Regions from separate parts of the Homo sapiens genome. Here region 1 is linked to region 2. Evidence: promoter capture Hi-C in 16 types of primary human blood cells and fetal thymus (Javierre and others, 2016). All regions are on one chromosome and are shown on one strand. The core of a region is centred on a gene start or on the middle of the fragment in contact, and the rest is flanking DNA. Distances in the headings are between cores, read along the strand shown. Region 1 overlaps PEPD (peptidase D). Region 2 holds the start of LRP3 (LDL receptor related protein 3).

Region 1 (4,299 bases), core at 801-3,300, 210 kb after region 2:
GGTAAACAACTCGAAGCCCAGCAATGGGTTCTTAGGTCCTGGCGGCAGTGCTCAACCTTCACGGCCTCAGTTTTTCCATCTGTAAAATGGGACCCTCCCACTGCTGTAGCTCTGGGGAGTGGAGCCATATGGAACACAGCCCAGTTTTGCCTGGGGACAGCTAAGCATTTTCATTTAGGTTCCCCAGAGTCAACCAAGAAAAATGGTTTGTGGTTTGTTGGTTTTAGAACATGCAAGAATAGCCTGGGCAGAGAGGACAGGGCCAGGAGTATGGGGGACACGGATTCCTAGGAGGCGCCAAATCAGAAGGTGACCTGCAACAGCAGCCGGGGCAGAAAGTCCTACCGGACTGTGCTGACACAAAAGAAAAAGCAGAAACTGAACTATCGTTTAAAAAACAACAACAACAACAACAACCAGGAAGCCCACAAGAATACCCCGAACAATGAAATCATCTAGGAATGTAAAAACAAGACTGTTCTCCAGTGCAGACCAGACTCAGATCCCAGTTCCCCAAACTCCCGCCAGCAAAGCAGAAAGACCATGGGATGGTGGGTGCCTGGATATCATCCGCCAGCCTGACTTTATCTTCCAGCTTGTAGAAGACTGTAACTGCATTTCTTGTTTGAAAATGATCTGCTTTCTGGAGGGGGAAGTATACACCCAGCCAGCCAGCTCCATCCTGCCCAGCGAGGCTCGGGTATGGAGCTGAAGTCTATTTTCGTGCTCCTCTCAGTTCCCTATCTTTTTCTGCCTTAAAAAAATCCCCCTAGAGTTTCTACACACATAAGTTATTCAGATGCAAGCTTTTCTGGAATCCAGGGACGAAAGCCATGGCTTTGATAAATCATCTCCCTCCCGCTCCTCTGCGTCCACTTCATCCATCCTCTGAATGCAAACCGACAATGGAGAATTCGGTCATACGTTGGCTCAATCGAGAACAGGCACGCAGGATCCCTCCTTCCTGGCTGTCTGGGGACCCTACCATCTTTGGCCGAGTGAGTCGATGATAATACAAGACATCTGGGAGACAGGATGCATCTCCAAACAACGTGCTGGCGTCTCACTCCCCACATGTGTTCTGAGGGCTCTGTTTCTGGCTCCTTCTGGGTAGCTTTGGGCCTGGGCTACCTGCCACCACTGGCCCACCCAGACCCTCCCTGGGCCCCATGGCAGGGACCCGCCAGCCCAGAGGCAGAAGGCCTCCAAGATGGGTCGGCCAGTGACGGAAGGCTTGGGAACAGTTTTCTGGGGGAAATGCTGCAATGTTTATATGAGAGCCACTTTGGACTTGGTTTGCAGTTTCATTTGAATCTCCTGAGTAGTGGCACGGCTCTTAGCTGTTCAATCCAACAGTTTACACGCGCTCATATTCGGGGCTGCAGAAGCACTGCAGACTCCGATGTGCAGCTGCCCTGGTCAGTGTCCCAGGCCAGGCTGGGGGATTGCTGAGCAGCAGGAAGCACTTGCTTCTCCTCAGTGTGAGACCGAAAGGGAGGCGTATGGGTCACTCTTCCCTTCATCTGCCCCAGTGGGCGGCCCCTGCAGACACGGTGGCGAGCTGTGGTCTCCAGGGTGCATGGGCCGGCTGCCTGCTCCCAGCCAGGCCTTCCGTGGAGTGCCAAGCTCCAAGCGTGGCCAGCAGGGACAAAGGCCACCACTCGGAGTCCCTGAGGCTCCCCGTGCCATGGCCTAACCCACCAAGGGGACCTCTCTCCAGTGCGTTCCTGGGCATCTCTGCCCCCTTTTCGTGTGACGGCCACTCCTCCAGGGCCTCGGCAGACAGGAAAGCTGCCCATGCCGCCAGCCCATGACAGCAGCAGCTTCTGGTCCCCAGAGCCAGCAATCCCTGGTGCACGCGGTGGGTGACGGGAGCAGCTGCGTCCTGTGGGCCTCCTGGGTGTCTGGAGGGAACTGGCATTGCCATTTTATGCATGACATGGACAGAGGCACGGCACCAGTGAGGGGCCCCGGGTCCCAGAAGAGCACTGTGGGGTGCCTCGTCCAGAGGTGGGTGAGACACAAGGACAGCTGCCAGGAAAGCACAGTGGGGTGAGGCCCGGGCGTCAGGGCAGTGGCCTTGGCAGGCGGGAGGGAGAGTCACACGCGCAGCACATGCTGTATTTTGCTTTTTTTGGTGACCAGTGTCTCATGATGTCTGGGAGCACCCAGGATGTCTGGACAAGTGCTGTTCAAACTGTGGGTCATGACATCAGCTGAGGAGGGTGCAGCCACGAAGCACAAACAAGAGACAAACCGAAAACGCGTGGGCAGGTGTCTGCTCATAACCAGGCCTGTCCATGTGTATGAGGACGGGTGAGAATGGAGAGCACGCTCCTAACTGGGATGGGATGGGACGGCCATGCCTGTGGGTCTGGACCCTCCTGAGGGCGTTCTGTGGCCCCAAGAGCATGTCTTTAAGACCGCAGAGTGCTCAGGGCAGGGCTGGCTGGTGACAACAAGTCTCCCTCGGAGGAAACAGCAAGGTGGTGGGGGAGAGCTGGGCTGGGACAGGCAGCAGAGAGCAGGCCTGGGGGCAACGCTCTACCCTGGAGCTCACCAAAGCATTGGGCCCCAGGTGGAGTGGGGCAAGGGGGTCCCCAGGAGCTTGTCACCCATGGGGTCCGCAGCGCGATGGTGGCAGACAGACTCAGGCTGAGTAGACAGCAGGAGTAGGCTGGCCGCATCCCAGGCTGCAGGGCCCATGTGAGGCCAAGGTGGCTGCTGAGGTCCTGGGTGAGCGGGCACCCCATGGCCTGCAGGGTCGAGGTCTCGCCATTATCTAGCCAGGGAAGGAGGGGAAGAGGGCACTGGTGGCTGCTGAGTGTGAGGGCTGGGACAGGTCTCTCCTCCTAGCCAGGCTGGCCACCCACCCCCCATGCCCAGGAGCAACACAAAAGACCAGGCCCAGCAGGGGTGAGGCCTGGCCCATCGTCCTGAGACAACACTGCCCTCTTCTGGCCAGTTCTGGAAGGACAGGCTTGCTGCCCACCAGCTGCATCCCGACTGGGACAACCAAGGCCTGGGGCATCCTGGGACACGTGCTCTAGAAACTCTGCGAGGGGCCACAGTAGATTAAGGCCCCCCTCCAACCCCCACCACCTGATCGGGAAGTGAGGGAGGCAGGAGGAGTGTCCCAGCTGCTTTCCCAACCAGAGCCCTCCACCTCTGCCCTGTGGGGTGAGCCTCTCCAGGACCTGGGGCGGCCTCAGGCCCGGAGTGCTGCAAGGGATGGTCCCTCTCTGGGCGCACTGCTTCCCAGAATCGTGGACCATGCGCCCCCTGCCCTAGCTGCGAAGCTTGCTGGCCTGCAGTGGCTCTGGTGCCCACAGCCCAGGCTGTTTGTGGAAGGAGGGGGCAGCACATGGGGGCTCAGAAGACGACCAGGAGAAGCAGGGGGATGAGTCCTGGCCACCTCTGTGCTCACACAAACCTGTTCGGGGCTGGAGTGAGTGGGGAGGGGTCTTCTGGGGCCTCCCACTTAGGAATGGCCTCCAGTGATCTCAGGCACCTCAATCTGTGTGAACATGTTGAAAGTGTTAATTAGCAAGTGTGCTGCGCTTTTGTAACCCTGTTCTTGAAGGTCTGCCTGAGGGGTTTAAAAAGGAAAACAAAAAAAGCAGCGAATGGCCCCTCTGGTACAGTGACTTGGAGATGGGGTTCATGGCGAACCCCAGGATCACAGCGGGAAAAGACTCTGAGAACAACAGCAAAACCCCCGGAGGCTTGACGGCTACAGGCCCCACATGGGGCCGCTTGGCTCTGAACCAGGCTGAGGGTGTATGCAGCCACCACAAAGTCCCGTCCCTCACCCCTGCGTGCATGCGAGTGGGTGTGGTGGCATCACACCCAGAGAAGCGGGAAGGGGCCCGGGGGTGGCTGGCTGGGGGTGAGGGACGGCCCTCAGGAAGTCTGTCTCAGTCCTTGGCTGACAAGCCTGACCTGAAGCAGGAACCAGGGTGTCTGGTTCATAGGCCCTCTTGGACCATGACTGTGGCCAACAGTGGACTCAGCCTAGCTCCAGGGAAGCTGCTGGAAGGGTAAGGACGGAGCAGTAGGAGGGGGGCCTAGCCAGCCCCAAACCCCGCTTGATGTACGCATCATGGAGGACACTTTTGGGTCGAAGACACGGAACAGGACAACCAGGGGACGGGAGCTGTCTGAGAATAAACCAGGCCTGGCCTGAGCTCTGCCTGTGGCTCCCACCTCCAGCCTGTGCTGCAGAACCAGCTGCTGGAAGTGGGCATCAGGGCCTGGCCTGCCCAGCTCGGTGAGGACACCGGGCCTGCTGCTCTTGCC
Region 2 (4,209 bases), core at 923-3,422:
GGACTGGGCCAGAGCTGCATTGGGGACCCCCAGCAAGGGTCTTGCCTGGCACAGCAACCTCTAGGGGGCACTAGACCATCATGAGACAAACGGGAAATGGGGTGTCAGTTATGGGCCGGGGTCTCAATATGGGCCGGGAGTAGGATAGGGCAGTGAGGCACTCACCTTGGGCACAGAATTGAAGGAAGTGCCAAAAAACTCAATAATGAAGATAAATCAACTTTAATGCAAATTTTTTGTGTGTGTGCAATGGGGACAGTTGTTTCCAATCAGCCCAAGGTTCCTGGGTACCTTGGCCGTTTCTTGCCTTATGGGTTTATGAGGGTTCACAATGGGATGTGCATAGATTGGGGAGCATGGAGATTTAGATATAGTCATGTGATTGTAGAGCTTTTCTTAGCCTTTCCACTTGGTTCAAAATATGGGAGGATATTTTGATAAGTGTGTCTAGGGGCTCACATTTTTCTTTTGCTTCAGGCTCCAACATGATTCCCATATTGGTCATTGGTCTGGACCCTAGATTCCTTACATAACGTGCAAAACATGCATTGAAGCAGGCAGCATCTTCAACAAAACCGCATATTTTGGCCAGGTGTGGTGGGTCCTGTCTGTAACTCCAGCACTTTGGGAGGCTGAGGCAAGAGGATCCCTTGAGTCCAGGAGTTTGAGGTTGCAGTGAGCCGTGATCACACCACTGCACTCCAGCCTGGGCAACAGAGCAAGACCTTGTCTCTACAAAAAAATGAAAAAATTAGCCTGACATGGTGGTGCACACCTGTCATCCCACCTACTTGGGAGGCTGAGGTGGGAGGATTGCTTGAGCCCAGGAGTTTGAGGGTACAGTGAGCTATGGTTGCAGCTCTGCACTCTAGCCTGGGTGAAAAAGTGAGACTGTCTCTAAAAAAACTAAGAAGCAGCAGCAGCAGCAGCAACAACAACAACAACAACAACAAACGAACAAACCGCAGATCCACCCTACCATTGCCCCTGCCTCTGTTGAGCATTTTTGCCATGCGTAAATAAATGCCTGCTCATCCGCAGTCAGCAGTCTGAGGAAATTCTGAAACCAAATTACACATAGGCTAGTGCTCTATGCCATCAATCTGTAATGTATCTTGTTATTTGATTTTTACGTCCTTTAATACATTTCCTAAGAAGTCTGCTTTGGAAAAATCACCAAAGGAATTAGAAGAGAGAGAATAAGAAAACCCAGAAAAACTAAAAGGATTTTTCTTCCCCCCATTTTTTATTAAAATCCAATCAACCTGCACAGTGCGAGTGAGTGAGTGACTGTCTACGCTTTCACTAACGGACCATCAGTTTCTCTCAACCTTCTCTCCATAAACGGAGAATATCAAATGAGGGTCTGGGGGTGTTAGAAAAGGGTTGGGAGCCTCAGCTCAGGTTGGTGGGCCCGCTGTGCCATGGAGCCTTTGGGGACCTCTGATTTCACATCCGTCTTGGCCCTAAATGGCCTTCTCAAACCTTCCCCCTGTCTCTCCTGGTTCTTGCCTCATTGGACTCAACCTCTTGGTGGGCAGCTCTCCAGAGGGCACCCCCAGCCTAAGAAGCAGGCCTCCTCCCAAGTCCCCAGCCTCACGAGGATAGTGGGTAACAGGGTGGGCTCAGGGGGCCCTGGGAGATCTCCAGAGGCCTCTGGTGTGTTCACCAATGTCCCCTGACAGGTCTTGCTTGGCACAGGGGGTTCCTCTTAGAGACGTGACAGGGCACTTGGACTGTGGCAAATGAAAGAAGCGGAGGGGCAGGAACAGGGACACCTTGCGAAGAAGACAGGCCTTAGCCTTGTGCCACCCCTATGAGGTCCCTAAGCCGTCCTCTCTCTCCCACCTTTTCCCAGTCCTCGCTCCCCGGTCCTCCTCAGCACAGCCGGCTCCAGGAGGGATCAATTCGTGGGCCCGGGAGGAGGCCAGGCGAGCACCGGCTGCCTGGAGCACTGGGCTGGAGCGCGGGGAGCGCGGCGGGGGGCGCGGGCGGGGCGGGGCTGGTGCGCAGAGCTGTCCAGCACCCCGAGGCGGGGCGTGCGCCCCCGGCCCGCCCCAGCCGCCTCCGCCCGCCCAGCCAGCGCCACTGCGGCTCGGCGGGCGCGTCACGTGGCTGGCGCAGCGCGGCCTCCAGGCTCCGGGCGCGGGCGAGGGGCCGGGCGGGAGGACTGACAGACCCACGGACGCTCTACCGGCGGCACCCGGCCGGGCGGGCTGGGCGCAGCGCGGGGCGGCCCGGGGACGCCGGGGCCGGGCGGGCTGCGCGCCGCGGGGCATGGGCGCGCCGGGGGTCCCCGGGCCCAGGCCGGCCGCGGCGGGGCTCCCGGGGCGCGGGGGCAGCGGCGGGCGGGGGTCTTCCCTGGCGGCCGCCGCTGAGCCCCCGCAGGGCCCGTGACGCCGCGGCCGATGTGGCCGCGCGCGCCCTACGGGCCTGCACCGCCACCGCACAAAGACGCCTCGGGAGCCGCCGCCTGCACCCGGGCCGCAGCAGCCACGCCAGCCGGAGCCCGAGCCCTAGCCCGAGCCCGAGCCCGAGCCGCAGCCAGAGCCAGAGCCGGAGCCGCAGCCGGAACCGGAGCCGGAGCCGCGGGGCAGGAGGCGGCGCCCGCGGGCGGCCGGGCCCGGCATGGAGAAGCGCGCGGCCGCGGGGCTGGAGGGCGCGCCGGGCGCCCGGGCGCAGCTGGCCGTCGTCTGTCTGGGTGAGTGGGCCGCGCGGGCCGGGCAGGTCCGGGTCCCCCGCATGGCAGTCCGCGCCGCGCCCTGACCGACCTCCTCTCCGGCCGCGGCATCCCGAGCCCCCCACCGCGGTGGCTCCCGCGCGGAGACCCAGAGAGGGGCCAGCACCGCTTGCCCGCCTGGCCCCGGGCCTGGGAGGGCGACTCTGGTGGCGCAGCCCCGGCTCCCGCCCCGCTCGGAGTAGCGCCCGGAGCCCGGGCTGAGCGCTGGCAGGAGGCCCTTCGTGCAGGCGGCAGCCTTCAACCCGGCCCGCCCGCGCTGAGCCTGGAGACGAGGGGGCCCCGGGAGCTGGGGACAAAGGCCAGGCCGGCTGTCCCCTGAAGAAGAAACTGTTTCCGGCCCGGAGTTGGGGTGGGGGCTGGTGTAAGCCGCAGATGGGGACTCGGGGTGCGGGGCAGGGCTGGAGGAGGGTGCCAGTGTGGAGGCGGCTTCCAGGGGACTCCTGTTTTCCCTTTGTGTCTCTCAGCCCCCAGGCAGGCCTGTTCAGTTTAGGAGGGTGCTTGGGTTGGGCCAGGGACCGGTCAAGGCCAGGCATGGGGTGGGAGGGGCTCCCGCCCTGTCCGGGAGTTTTTCTGTCCAGCTTTCCAGCGCTCTGTGTAGGCGAGAGGAGGAGTTAAATCCCCAACCCACATGGCTCCTTTATTTACTGTGATGAAGGAGGGAGGCCATTATAAGAACTGGGGGTCATTAGGGGACACCCTGTGATGTCACCAGTGAGGGCTCTGTAACCTGACAGGTTTGCTGAAGCCACTGAAATGACAAAGTAATCACCCCCAGGCCTCAGGGAGCTCCGAGGCTCTGGCAGGCCCTTGCCCCAGCTGTGTGAGCCTGGCTCAGTGGGAATGTGCCATTGGGGAGCATTGAGGGTGTAACCCCAGCGCGCCCACCCCAACCTCAGTGCGGGGTCATGTGTGCTGGGCTCTGAGCTGCTGGGTGCTGGCATCCCTGGTGAGCAGAGCAGGGGGACAGGCGCTCCATGCTTAGGAGCTTTGGCCTGGCTCTGTCCAGGGGGCCTGGGTGTCCTGGGTGGGGGCAGCGGTTCCTGCTTCCTGGCCAGGCGGGATCTGACACACATCCTGAACCCCGGGAAGTTGGGTTTCCCCCCACCCCCCGACTCTGGGCCCGTAACCCCCCGGGCCAGAGCAGAAGGTGAAAGTAAGGGCCAAACCCCACGGAGGTGGGTGCTTGAGGGGTGGCTGGGGAGTTCTGCTTTCCTCCTCAAAGTCAGCTTGGCACGGGGGAAGAGGATGGTTCCGTCACTAGCTGCGTGCCCTGTAAATGGGGATTATCAGAACTGCCTCCCCTCCTGCCTCTGCTGCTGCTGGGCGAGCAAAGCCCCTTGGTAGGGGGAAGCCCTTCAAAGTTGTAGGAGCAGGCCAGGGTGCGGTGGCAGGTGCCTGTAATCCCAGCACTTTGGGAGACCAAGGCAAGAGAATTGCTGGAGGCCAGGAGTTTAAGACCAGCCTGAGCA

What was found. Contacts are between HindIII fragments. The CHiCAGO score rates a contact against its expected background, and 5 or more counts as called.
Region 1: a contact is called between a fragment that was not itself captured here and the fragment with the promoter of LRP3 in region 2, in 5 of 17 cell types (M0 macrophages, monocytes, megakaryocytes and 2 more). The highest score is 7.3, in M0 macrophages.

Annotation. Positions count from the first base shown.
Region 1 is chr19:33,404,062-33,408,360 of GRCh38, forward strand. The region is part of intron 11 of PEPD (peptidase D); the gene reads right to left. It overlaps LOC124904692 (a long non-coding RNA gene), which reads left to right. Exons shown (of 2, transcript XR_007067229.1): 2 at 228-4,299. Among named protein-coding and RNA genes, the nearest start is that of CEBPG, 33 kb to the left of the region's middle. RefSeq lists an enhancer at 2,639-3,196. The HindIII fragment of the contact is 2,493 bases long and covers 805-3,297 here.
Region 2 is chr19:33,192,158-33,196,366 of GRCh38, forward strand. LRP3 (LDL receptor related protein 3) reads left to right here and starts at 2,173. Exons shown (of 7, transcript NM_002333.4): 1 at 2,173-2,701. The coding sequence starts at 2,629. The HindIII fragment of the contact is 39,491 bases long and covers 1-4,209 here.